Regions from separate parts of the Homo sapiens genome. Here all the other regions are linked to region 3. The links are contacts of gene promoters, found by promoter capture Hi-C in blood cells and fetal thymus (Javierre and others, 2016). All regions are on one chromosome and are shown on one strand. The core of a region is centred on a gene start or on the middle of the fragment in contact, and the rest is flanking DNA. Distances in the headings are between cores, read along the strand shown.

The links. Contacts are between HindIII fragments. The CHiCAGO score rates a contact against its expected background, and 5 or more counts as called.
Region 1: a fragment that was not itself captured here is called in contact with the fragment with the promoter of C1orf116 in region 3 in 4 of 17 cell types (naive B cells, total B cells, endothelial precursors and 1 more); the score reaches 5.2 in naive B cells.
Region 2: a contact is called between the fragment with the promoter of CR1L here and the fragment with the promoter of C1orf116 in region 3, in 11 of 17 cell types (neutrophils, total B cells, megakaryocytes and 8 more). The highest score is 12.6, in neutrophils.

Annotation. Positions count from the first base shown.
Region 1 is chr1:207,564,074-207,567,294 of GRCh38, reverse strand. It overlaps CR1 (complement C3b/C4b receptor 1 (Knops blood group)), which reads right to left. Exons shown (of 47, transcript NM_000651.6): 23 at 3,061-3,163; 24 at 1,372-1,457. Among named protein-coding and RNA genes, the nearest start is that of CR1, 70 kb to the right of the region's middle. The HindIII fragment of the contact is 1,317 bases long and covers 1,100-2,416 here.
Region 2 is chr1:207,643,775-207,647,144 of GRCh38, reverse strand. CR1L (complement C3b/C4b receptor 1 like) reads right to left here and starts at 2,012. Exons shown (of 12, transcript NM_175710.2): 1 at 1,815-2,012. The coding sequence starts at 1,911. It also overlaps the pseudogene CD46P1. RefSeq lists an enhancer at 1,903-1,982 and a silencer at 2,043-2,212. The HindIII fragment of the contact is 2,525 bases long and covers 1,623-3,370 here.
Region 3 is chr1:207,031,336-207,034,447 of GRCh38, reverse strand. C1orf116 (chromosome 1 open reading frame 116) reads left to right here and starts at 1,692. Exons shown (of 4, transcript NM_023938.6): 1 at 1,692-1,869. It also overlaps a transcript of PFKFB2 not described here. The HindIII fragment of the contact is 5,727 bases long and covers 1-3,112 here.

The DNA of each region.
Region 1 (3,221 bases), core at 509-3,008, 530 kb before region 3:
GTCAGGCCATGATAAAAAAAAAAAAAAAACTCCAAATGGATTCAGATGGCTTTGCTTTTGAAAATGTCTAGGTCTGTTGATGATTTATTTTCTCTTTTTACTCTCTGGGTCAGGTTTCAAGTTGTTACTCCTTTCTAGCATCTAATGATTTGTTTAGAACAGTCTCTTCCTCATTTCTAATTGGCATTTTTCATTAGAACTGGCATTTGGAAGAAACTATTTTAACTAGCAAGAGTTATGAAAAATAAGAGAAAGCTTGAGTAGTCCAGTTAATGAGCTTTCATTCATGATAGTAGAACAGACACTTGTCATACTGCTTCAAGGAGCACTGGATTTCTTAGACAGCAAGAATCTCTATATAAGTTATGTTCTTCCAAAATTTTACTCTAAAAATCACTGTAAGATGTCCAAGTATATTTCTAACAACATAAACATTTTAGTAAAATTTCATGATTTTCTAAAGAAACACGTTTTCCAATCATTAGAATCAAGAATTGAAGCAAAGTTCTATCTTCCATTGGGGAAATTATACATGGGTAGACTAGGAGAAATCAGTAGTCTACTGATTATTGAACATATGAGGCTCATTTTAAAAAAATGACTTATTATTTATGAATCTCTCAGCATAAATTATTTAGGTACATGTTTTGAGAATTTAAGGAGTCTCAAACTGCTCACCCTGTCTAATGTTGCTCCCCATTTTTGCCTCATTCCTCAGTGCTTTGCTCTATTGTCTCATAGCATTGAATTTATTTTTTTTCTTGTCCCTCTCCCCACCTAAGTAGAAACAACATGGGGACAGGGAATTCATCCATCTTGTTCATTGATATAACTCCAGTGGCTAGATGAACATCAGGCACAAAGTATGTGATCAATAAATATTGATTAAATAAAGCCATGTTCAATATTTGTGTATTATCATATATATATAAATTGTAGACTGACTGCACTTTGATGGGAGAACAAAATGAAAAAGAAAGAAGGGAGGAAGGAAAGAAGAAAGGGGAGAAGGAGAGAAGAAGGGAAGAAAGAACTGAAGGATGGAAGGAAGAGAAAAAAGAAAGAAAAAACTAGAGAAAGAAAGAAAATTGTTAAAGCTTCACATTATCTAATCTCTCCTGACCTAGGAGCACAAGACCAAAGGATTTATCGCACTAGAACAGAGAATGCAGAAGGACAGAGACAGATCAGATGGTTGCAAAGACAGGTGATGTACATATTGATTCACAACCAAACATTATTAAAATAAACTATTTTTAAATCGATAATTAAGACTAGAATATTGAAGAATCACATTGAGGGAGGCCATAGGACAAATAGTGAACAGATGAAGGGGAGAGATTGGCCTGAAATGTTGCTCCTATTACTCACGTTCACACACTGGAACACTGCTATTCCAAAGGCTTTCCATTCCAGCCAAGACACAATAACTAGCAGAGCTGCCTTTTAATTGAAATCTAAAGAAGAAAATAGGAGTGAATAGTGAGCTGTTTCAGCCAAGAGGACACTTAGTTCACAATCTAAGGCCCAGCCCCAATTTCAGGATTTTGAGGATCTGAGGCCAGCAGATGGCAGAGTTGCACAGGCTACCTTATTCTGGAAAAATCACAGCCTCCAGAAGGGAACAATATAGAATGGCAAAATGTAGTAGCTTGGTCACATGATAGTCCTGCTTGAATTGAAAAAGGTGGTCATGACATAGGCGCCATCCCCTTGACCCAGGACCCAGGCTTGGAGTTTCACTGATTACTCCATGATAACCTGATAAATCACTCATTGTTGTTATTAGAAACCCAGTCTTCTAATGTAATGCCTTCCTAACTCTGACCCTGGAACAGCAAGTAAAACAGCTCCCAGTTTGGAGTGGAAAAGTGGGAAATAGCTGGCGAGAGAACAGAGATTGTCCTTTCATCTCCACATCTGTGATGGCGTGAAGAAGGCTCAAAAGGGCAGTTTGGGCTGCTGAAGAGTAAGCATGAATATTCTAGGGGAAAAAGGAAAGAAGAGAGGACATGATTTTTGTATGCAATTGTCGAAAATTCTCAGTCTTTTGGACCCTGATGCCCTCCTAACTCTTACTGGGTGCTGGCATTTGGAGGCTGCCAAGATTCTGTGTTACATTATGGGATCAGGTGCTTTGTTGCCCATGCCGGTCAGCTCCTGTGTAGAGATGTGCACGCTGTGAAGAGCACTAGATGGACATAAACAAGGTAATGACCTTGCTGGGAATATTAACAGCAGCCATCACGACCCCAGCTCAGAGCCCAGAGCCCATGACTAGCCAGAAGATATATGACTGAATTTTTAAAAAAATGCTGATTTTTACATTTTCAGTCCTATTACAAATTTCACTGTTGATGGTTTAAAGAATTTACTGAAATGATTCTTAAAGGATCCTAGCTTTTAATAATAAGCTTTTCATTACTTGCAATTTTTCCTGGGACTCTCTAAATTACTCATATTCCCTTTTGCTTGTAAAATATGATTTTTTTCCTGAGATGGAGTTTCACTCATTGTTCACGCTGGAGTGCAATGGTGCCATCTCGGCTCACTGCAAACTCCACCTCCCAGGTTCAAGTGATTCTGGTGCCTCAGCCTCCGGAGTAGCTGGGATTACAGGCACATGCCACCAAACCCAGCTAACTTTTGTATTTTTAGTAGAGACAGGGTTTCACCATGTTGTCCAGGCTGGTCTCCAACTCCTGACCTCAGGTGATCTGCCTGCCTCAACCTCCCAAAGGTGCTGGGATTACACACGTGAGCCACCGTGCCTGGCTGATATTTTTTGCTTAATGTGTTACCTATATATTCATAACCACTAGTTATACTTGCCTTTGAACTTGCCAGTTAATATATGTTCCAGTTTCCTCTTCATATCTCATGTTATTAGTTCTATATGTTTCTTTCCTTTCTTCCTAGGTATACTTTCGAAAGTTCATCTCTCTGAAGGTGTGTGTGTGTGTGTGTGTCTTTCTTTTAAGCCACACCAAATCTCCCCTTTTTAGACTGATTCCCAACCCCAATTTCAATGTCCAGCAGGTCAGGCAAGCTCATACTCACCCTTCATCACAAACAAAATCCACTTTTGCTCCAAGCTGGAGATTTACTGGAAATAGCACACGGCCATTAAGAAGTTGGCCCATGAAGTCATCACAGGATTTCACTGGAGATAAAGAAAAACGAACAGAAATCACTGGCATGTGGAGAATAAAGACGCAAGC
Region 2 (3,370 bases), core at 763-3,262, 610 kb before region 3:
TGTCTGCCACTCCCAATACATTTTAGCAAACATCTGTTGATTGCCTACTGTGTTCCCGGCATTAAGCACTTAACAATGAGCAAAAAAAGTCCCTGCTTATCTTCCTGCATGTACGTGTGTGTAAACAAATAGTAAAAAAAGGATAAAGAAAATAGGAATTGTCTGTTATTACCTACTAGTGTAACAGCACCAGACATACAAGACCCATATTTGTTGAATGAATGTTCCTAAGAGAAGAAATGCAACGTACAATCTGTACATGGAATAAGATCCTAAATATAATTTGGACATAGATACACATGAAACACAATAAAGTCAGAAGGAAATATAACAAAATATTAAAAACAGTTGTCCTTTTATTTTGTTCATTTTGCACAATAAGCCTGTATTTAAGCATGTATTTTTTGGCTTTTTTTTTTTTTTTTTTTTTTTTTGAGACAGGGTCTCACACTGTCATCCAGGCTGGAGTGCAGTGGCATGATCACAGCTCACTGCAGTCTTCTCCTCCTGGGCTCAAGCGATCCTCCCACCTCAGCCTCTGGAGTAGTTGGGACCACGGGCATACACCACCATGCCCATCTAATTTTTTTATTTTTTGTAGACATGGGGTTTTGACATGTTGTCCAGGCTGATCTTGAACTCCTGGGCTTAAGCAATCACCCAACTTGGGCCTCCCAAAGTGCTGGGATCACAGGTGTGAGCAACTGGGCCTGGCCTAGCATGCATTTTTAAAAATATTGATTCCATTCAATGAAATACAAAACAGTGGGATAGGCCTTAAGCTTCAGTTTATGAGCTGTAGGGGAAAACAAGATTAACATTATCTGCCTTCCTTTGTTAGGATACTAATTTCTCACTAGGTTTGGCTACCAGTGTTTTTTAGGTTGCTTCACATCTCTCAAATATGACTCAAACTAATGAAAAGAAGGAAAACAATGTCAAAAAGCCACTAGGCAATGGAATCAGATACTGTCTATATTGGTTGGGAACAGGAAGATGACTCGATGGCCCACCCACCCCCCAAAAAAGCAGCCACTTAAAATTCAAGACCAATACGATCTCAGGCAACACGGACACTGTTCACAGAAGGCACTAAAAGCATGGTGCGCCCTTACCACCTCTCTAACCCCAGGCACTGAGAGCCTGCTCTCACTCAACATGCCCTCCCTAGCCGCAGAGTCCGCGCTCGCTCCACTCAAAGCAAACAGTGAGCTGTCTTGCCCACAGTGAACTCCGCACACAGGCCACTTGCGCACAGCACGCTCCCAGCAACACCTGGCCAGGCCCCTGCTCGCCCAGCCCAGCCCAGGCCAGCCCAGCCCATGGGGCACAGCAGACGCACTGCAACCCTTACCGCGGGTACTGTCCAAGCCCTAATGAACACCCTACTCACCAAGGCACCAAGGGAACACAGGGCAAACTCTCACCACGGGCACAGCACGGGCTCTAGCAACAATCCCACGCACCTGTGCACTCCAGAGCAAGCCCTCACCTGGGGCGCCCAGTAAGCCCTCCCCTTGCTGACTGGGCTCAATCCCGAAAACACGATTCACGCTTCTTTTGGGAACGCAGCCAGATCCTGCGTAAATGTCGGCCGCGCACACGATGCCACCAAACAAGCTTCTGCGTGGTTCCCGCATCCCCCGCCACATACCCCCGGGATCTGAGCACGGCACCCCTCGGAGAACCCTGGCCTCGCTCTCTATCCCAAGCAGGCACGACGTGCAGTGAGCTTCGCCCCGCGCCTCCTGCCCGACTGACTGAGCAGAGCTCTAGCCTCGCCGCGGACGCGCGAATCCACCCCGGGGTCCTACCGGAGAAGGAGGACAGCAGCAACACCAGGGCCGCCAGAAGCAACCCAGGAAAGCGCCGGGAAGGAAAGGGACGCTCGAGACGGACGGGAGGCGCCATGAGCGGCGCGGGAGACCCCGTGATTTATCCGGAGGTGAGCAGAGAAACCGAAAGCCAGCCGAGCAGGGAAGTCCCTTCTGAGTCCGGTTAGTGGACACAACAATCCCCAAACTCACAGTTTCCAGGGCCGCATGACAGGTGGGCGTGGCCTGGGCGCGTAGTGTGAAATTGAGTCTTAGCGCCGGGGCGGCTGGGGCCAATCGGCGGGCCGCGGGGCGGGGCCTCGGCGCGCAGGGGCAGCCCGTTGGCCTTCGAGGAGACAGGGCGTGTCCAGAGCCCTGGCAGGGGGTTATCGTGGGCTAGCACCCCTCAGGGTTAGTTTTATCCTGGGGCACTGCAGGCTGTCAGGACTGCCTGGGCCCTTACTTGGTATTTGGCATTAGTCAGGCATTATTGGGAACAATATTTGAGTTTTTCTTGCTTGAATGCCTGCTACTGAATCGTCTCGGCGCCGTCTTCTTTTCACAGTCTCAAAGGTTTGGCTTCTGCACTCCCAGCCCCTAAGATAATTTGCCCTTTGCTCCCCTCCCTGGAGAGGACCCGTCAGAATCTAAATTATTAAGCAACACCAGGCCGTTAGCATATTGAGACTCTATGGGACCCTTGCCCTTGAGCAACTAAATGTTTTATTGAAGACGAAATATACATGCATGAACAATGTAAGGACAAGGGTGTCCTAAGTGCCAAATTCCTGGAAGCAATAAATGCAGGAGGATTGGGATGGGTAGAAATTGTTAGGCGAAGTGGATAAGGGGGAGAACTTTTCTGGTGAAACAATCTCAGGAACAATGTTGGAAAATTAAGAATGAGCAGGATTGATTTGTAGGGTTCTGAGTAAGCCAGTATGACTGGTAAAAGGGGGAAAAAAAAAGGGAACATGACTGGCATTAAAAGAGCAAACAAAAAAAGTTGACATCTCTTCCCCTCAGATTGGCAAAGAATTAAAACGTCAGCCAATGTGAGTGAACATGTTGCAGGGGGACCAGCACTCTGTTTGTAACATAACTTTTCAGAATGTTAAAAGTCTTAAAGTGGAAATGACTTGTGTTAGGCTCTCAGTTCCCAGAGAAATCATCAGAGCTGTGATCAAAGATTTATAATTTTTGTAAAAAATGTAAACCCTAAGTGTCTAGCAAAAGTAATAAGGAGGCAGTTACCTTTGTGTGATGGAATTCTATGCAGCAAGTATTGCAAAAGAATACCAAATGTGAGAAACTATGATATCATTGTAAGTGGAAAAAGCAGAGTCCAAATTGGCATGTGCATTTTGGCAGTCCTTTTATTAAAACAAAAATGCTATATATATATATATATATATACATACACTAATTTGGAACACAACAAAATTAACAATGGTTAAGATTATAGATATTTCACTTTCCTTGTGCTTTTCAGTTTTCTTTTTCTATGTTGACCCTATGTTACATTTAGAATAAGGTAAAGAAAATGTATTTTAAAA
Region 3 (3,112 bases), core at 443-2,942:
ACTTCATCCATGGGTGTGACTCTGGTTGCACTGAACTGCTGATTTGGAGATGCCCTTCCTGTTTTGTTAGTATTATGACATCATATATGTTTGAATGACACACCAGGGAAAGAGGTCATAGCCCGAAGTGCTCATTCAGCTGTGATATCCATAGGCTGCTGATAGGGTACTGGGTTATCCCAGGCTTCCTCCAACCTCCTTCCTATCCATTAGTCCTGCTCCACTTCATCTTTACCTTGGCCCCAGGATCACTGCCCTTTTTATTTCCTATCCAACCATGATCACAGAAAGAGAAAAGATGAAAGCCATGTGTCGTCTTGTTATAAAACATATTAATAGCTTTAAGTAGGAAATGAAACAGAAAAGGACGAATCTAATAGCTAGAATTACACTTGCAAATTATCTGTGTATTTCATGATTCCCACTTGAGATTCCTTCCAAAATAGAGGCGGATTGGCATTATGCTGATTCATAGCAACCTTGATGTTATACTGCCTGAATTAAAATCTCTGCCCTGCCTCTTCCTAGCTACATGGCCTTGAAAAAGATTTTTAACCTCCCTGTAAAATTTAGATATTAACAAATGCCTACTTTTTTAAGTTAAAGACTAAATTAAAAGATACATGAAAATGCTCAGCACAATACCTAGCAAATAGCAAGAGCTTAATACATTTTGGCAATTATTGTGTACATTGATTTTAAATTTTCTCCCTGACCTTTTAATGCTAGTAAGTGGAATACCTCAAATCCTGATACCTATCAAGGATAATCTACCTGTAGGAAAAACCAGCTTCCAGGCAAAAATCATATCTGTTAAGAGTGGTCTCTGTACCTGGTGGGAAATTTCTTCCCAAAAATAGTAGATTCTTCTACCTACTCTCTTCTCCCTACGAATGCCAAGTATCAGTCCATGAAAGGAGACAAGAGTTGCTAAACTGGTTGGTAGTTTGTTTTGTTTTTATTTCATAATATGTATTGCCACCTTCCATGAACAGCCAAAAGAGAGCAGAGGACCAAATGACAGAGTGCATGCTCTCTCCTTTCAAGCTGTCCAGTCACTCTTTCATCAGGACACGGACCTCTTAGGGGATGAATGGTTTTATTTCCCCCAGAAATAAATTAGGCCAAGGAGATTGTTGGCAAGCACTGGGGCGAGACTGGCCCAACTACAGCATCCCTAGCCTGGGGACACCTTCTTCAGTGGACATGAATGGAATTGCTAGGCTTATGAGCTAGGATTAGGCTTGGGGAAGAAAGTGACTTTCAACATCTAGAAAAGCTAGCAGCAAAACTGAACACAAATGAGTTTAGCCTAGAGAATTCAGGGGAAAACTAAGCTCCAAGCGGAAGAAGGTAGTTCTAGATGAAAAACCTGTTTCACATAGACCTATGGAAAAGCACACTGCCCAGAGGACTGTCTGCGTTCCTTTATATCAACATTAAATATATATACTATCTCTGCCTACTCCCTCCCTGCCACCTGTCCTTCCAGTCTCAGCCCAAACCGGCTCCTCCTCCTTCCAGCCCTCCTTTTTTAAAGAGCTCTTTATTAGCTCTAAACAGGAAAGGGGAGGGTAGGAGATGATTGGCTAAGAGGGAACAGCACCACCCTGCTCATTCCCCTCCCATTCCCTCCCTGAGGAAACAGCTGGAATGAGAGGTAGGGAGGGGAGGCTAGGATTGGCTGAGTCAGTGGCAGGGTGGGGGCCAGGCAGCACAGATGAAGCATTTACCTATCTAGGTAAGTCAGGAGGAGCTCAAAAGGAGAAGAAAACAGTAGGAGGCAGGGGAAGCAGCCTCTGTCTCCATCTCTGCCCTTTGAAACAAAAGGGTATTTCTTTTCTCTCTTCAGCCCCCAACCCAGTGGAGGTGAGTTAATCACTAACCAACTATTGCTTATCCTATAGCAATAGGAAGGGGTTTCATGGGAAATCAGAGCTACAGGGGAGGGGAGGTGTCCCTCTATACCCCAGCTAGGGAGATTTCCTCTCTGTTCCTCAATTCTCTGAGTCCATTCTGGGATCAGATCAGGTTGGTAGCAACTTGAGATTGTAGTGTTTTTGTGGAGACTGGGGCTGGGAGGCACCTTCTTTTTCATTTATCCCTTTAGGTTGGATAGGCATATTGTGCAAACAACAAGAAAAAGAAAATAGATTTGTTTTGGAAATTTCCATCTCTGAACAATTGAAATTGAGTTGTGATTTTAGAAAAGAACAGTTGAAATAGAGGGAGTCAAAATGGGGGAGAGTATCTTGGTTTTCCATAGCGACTGTAACAGGAAATTCTCCCGTGGCTTTACCAACTCGGTGTCGATCTTTATTTAAATAATGGGTGCAATGTGTGTGTGTGTTTGATCATGCTCATGTGATAATGGAGCTCTCTGTGTACAGGTGTGTTAGGCATGAGCTGTACTAGGTTGTTTGTAAAGGGATATGAGGTTGGGGCACATGGAGAAAACTTCAGCTACCAGCTCATCTTTGGAAAACCCATGGATAATCTAGCTGCAAAGTCAAGTTTATTTGGATTCTACTCAATTAACTTTCTGACTCAGCCTGTTAATAGACACAGAGACTGGCAAACAGAAAGCTACCTGGCTGTGCCGAGCCTCACCCACATGAATATTTCGTGGCTGCATGTCAAGTCTAGTTAGAGTTCCAAGTGGGGCTCAAGCCAAGGTAGTGTGGCAGAGTCCACAGACAGAGAAGCAGACCAGGGTGGTGGCTTTGTTTGTTTTCCTGCAGGTGTCCCAGTTGGCAGTTTGTGTGGCAGATTTACCTGCAGAAGGAAGGCAGATGTAGGAGTCGAGTCAGAGTAGCAAGTTGCCTCTCCATTATCCATCTTGGGGGGTTTAACCCTTTGGTCCCTAACTTTGACTCTTTTCCTCCTGCTGCAGAGAAGAGGGAAGTGGGAAGCCCTCAGTGCCAGGCTCAAGGGCCTGGCACACGCAGCCCTGAGTGAATATATGGGTTTTCCAGTCCTGGCAACTGGAGATTTAGGCTTGAGCTCACCTCACACCACAGAGCCAACACCCCACACTCACAGACTGAGGGCTGCCCTAGATGGTGAATTTAGGAATAAAGACCACTGGCAGTGTCTAACAAAGCTCTGCTAT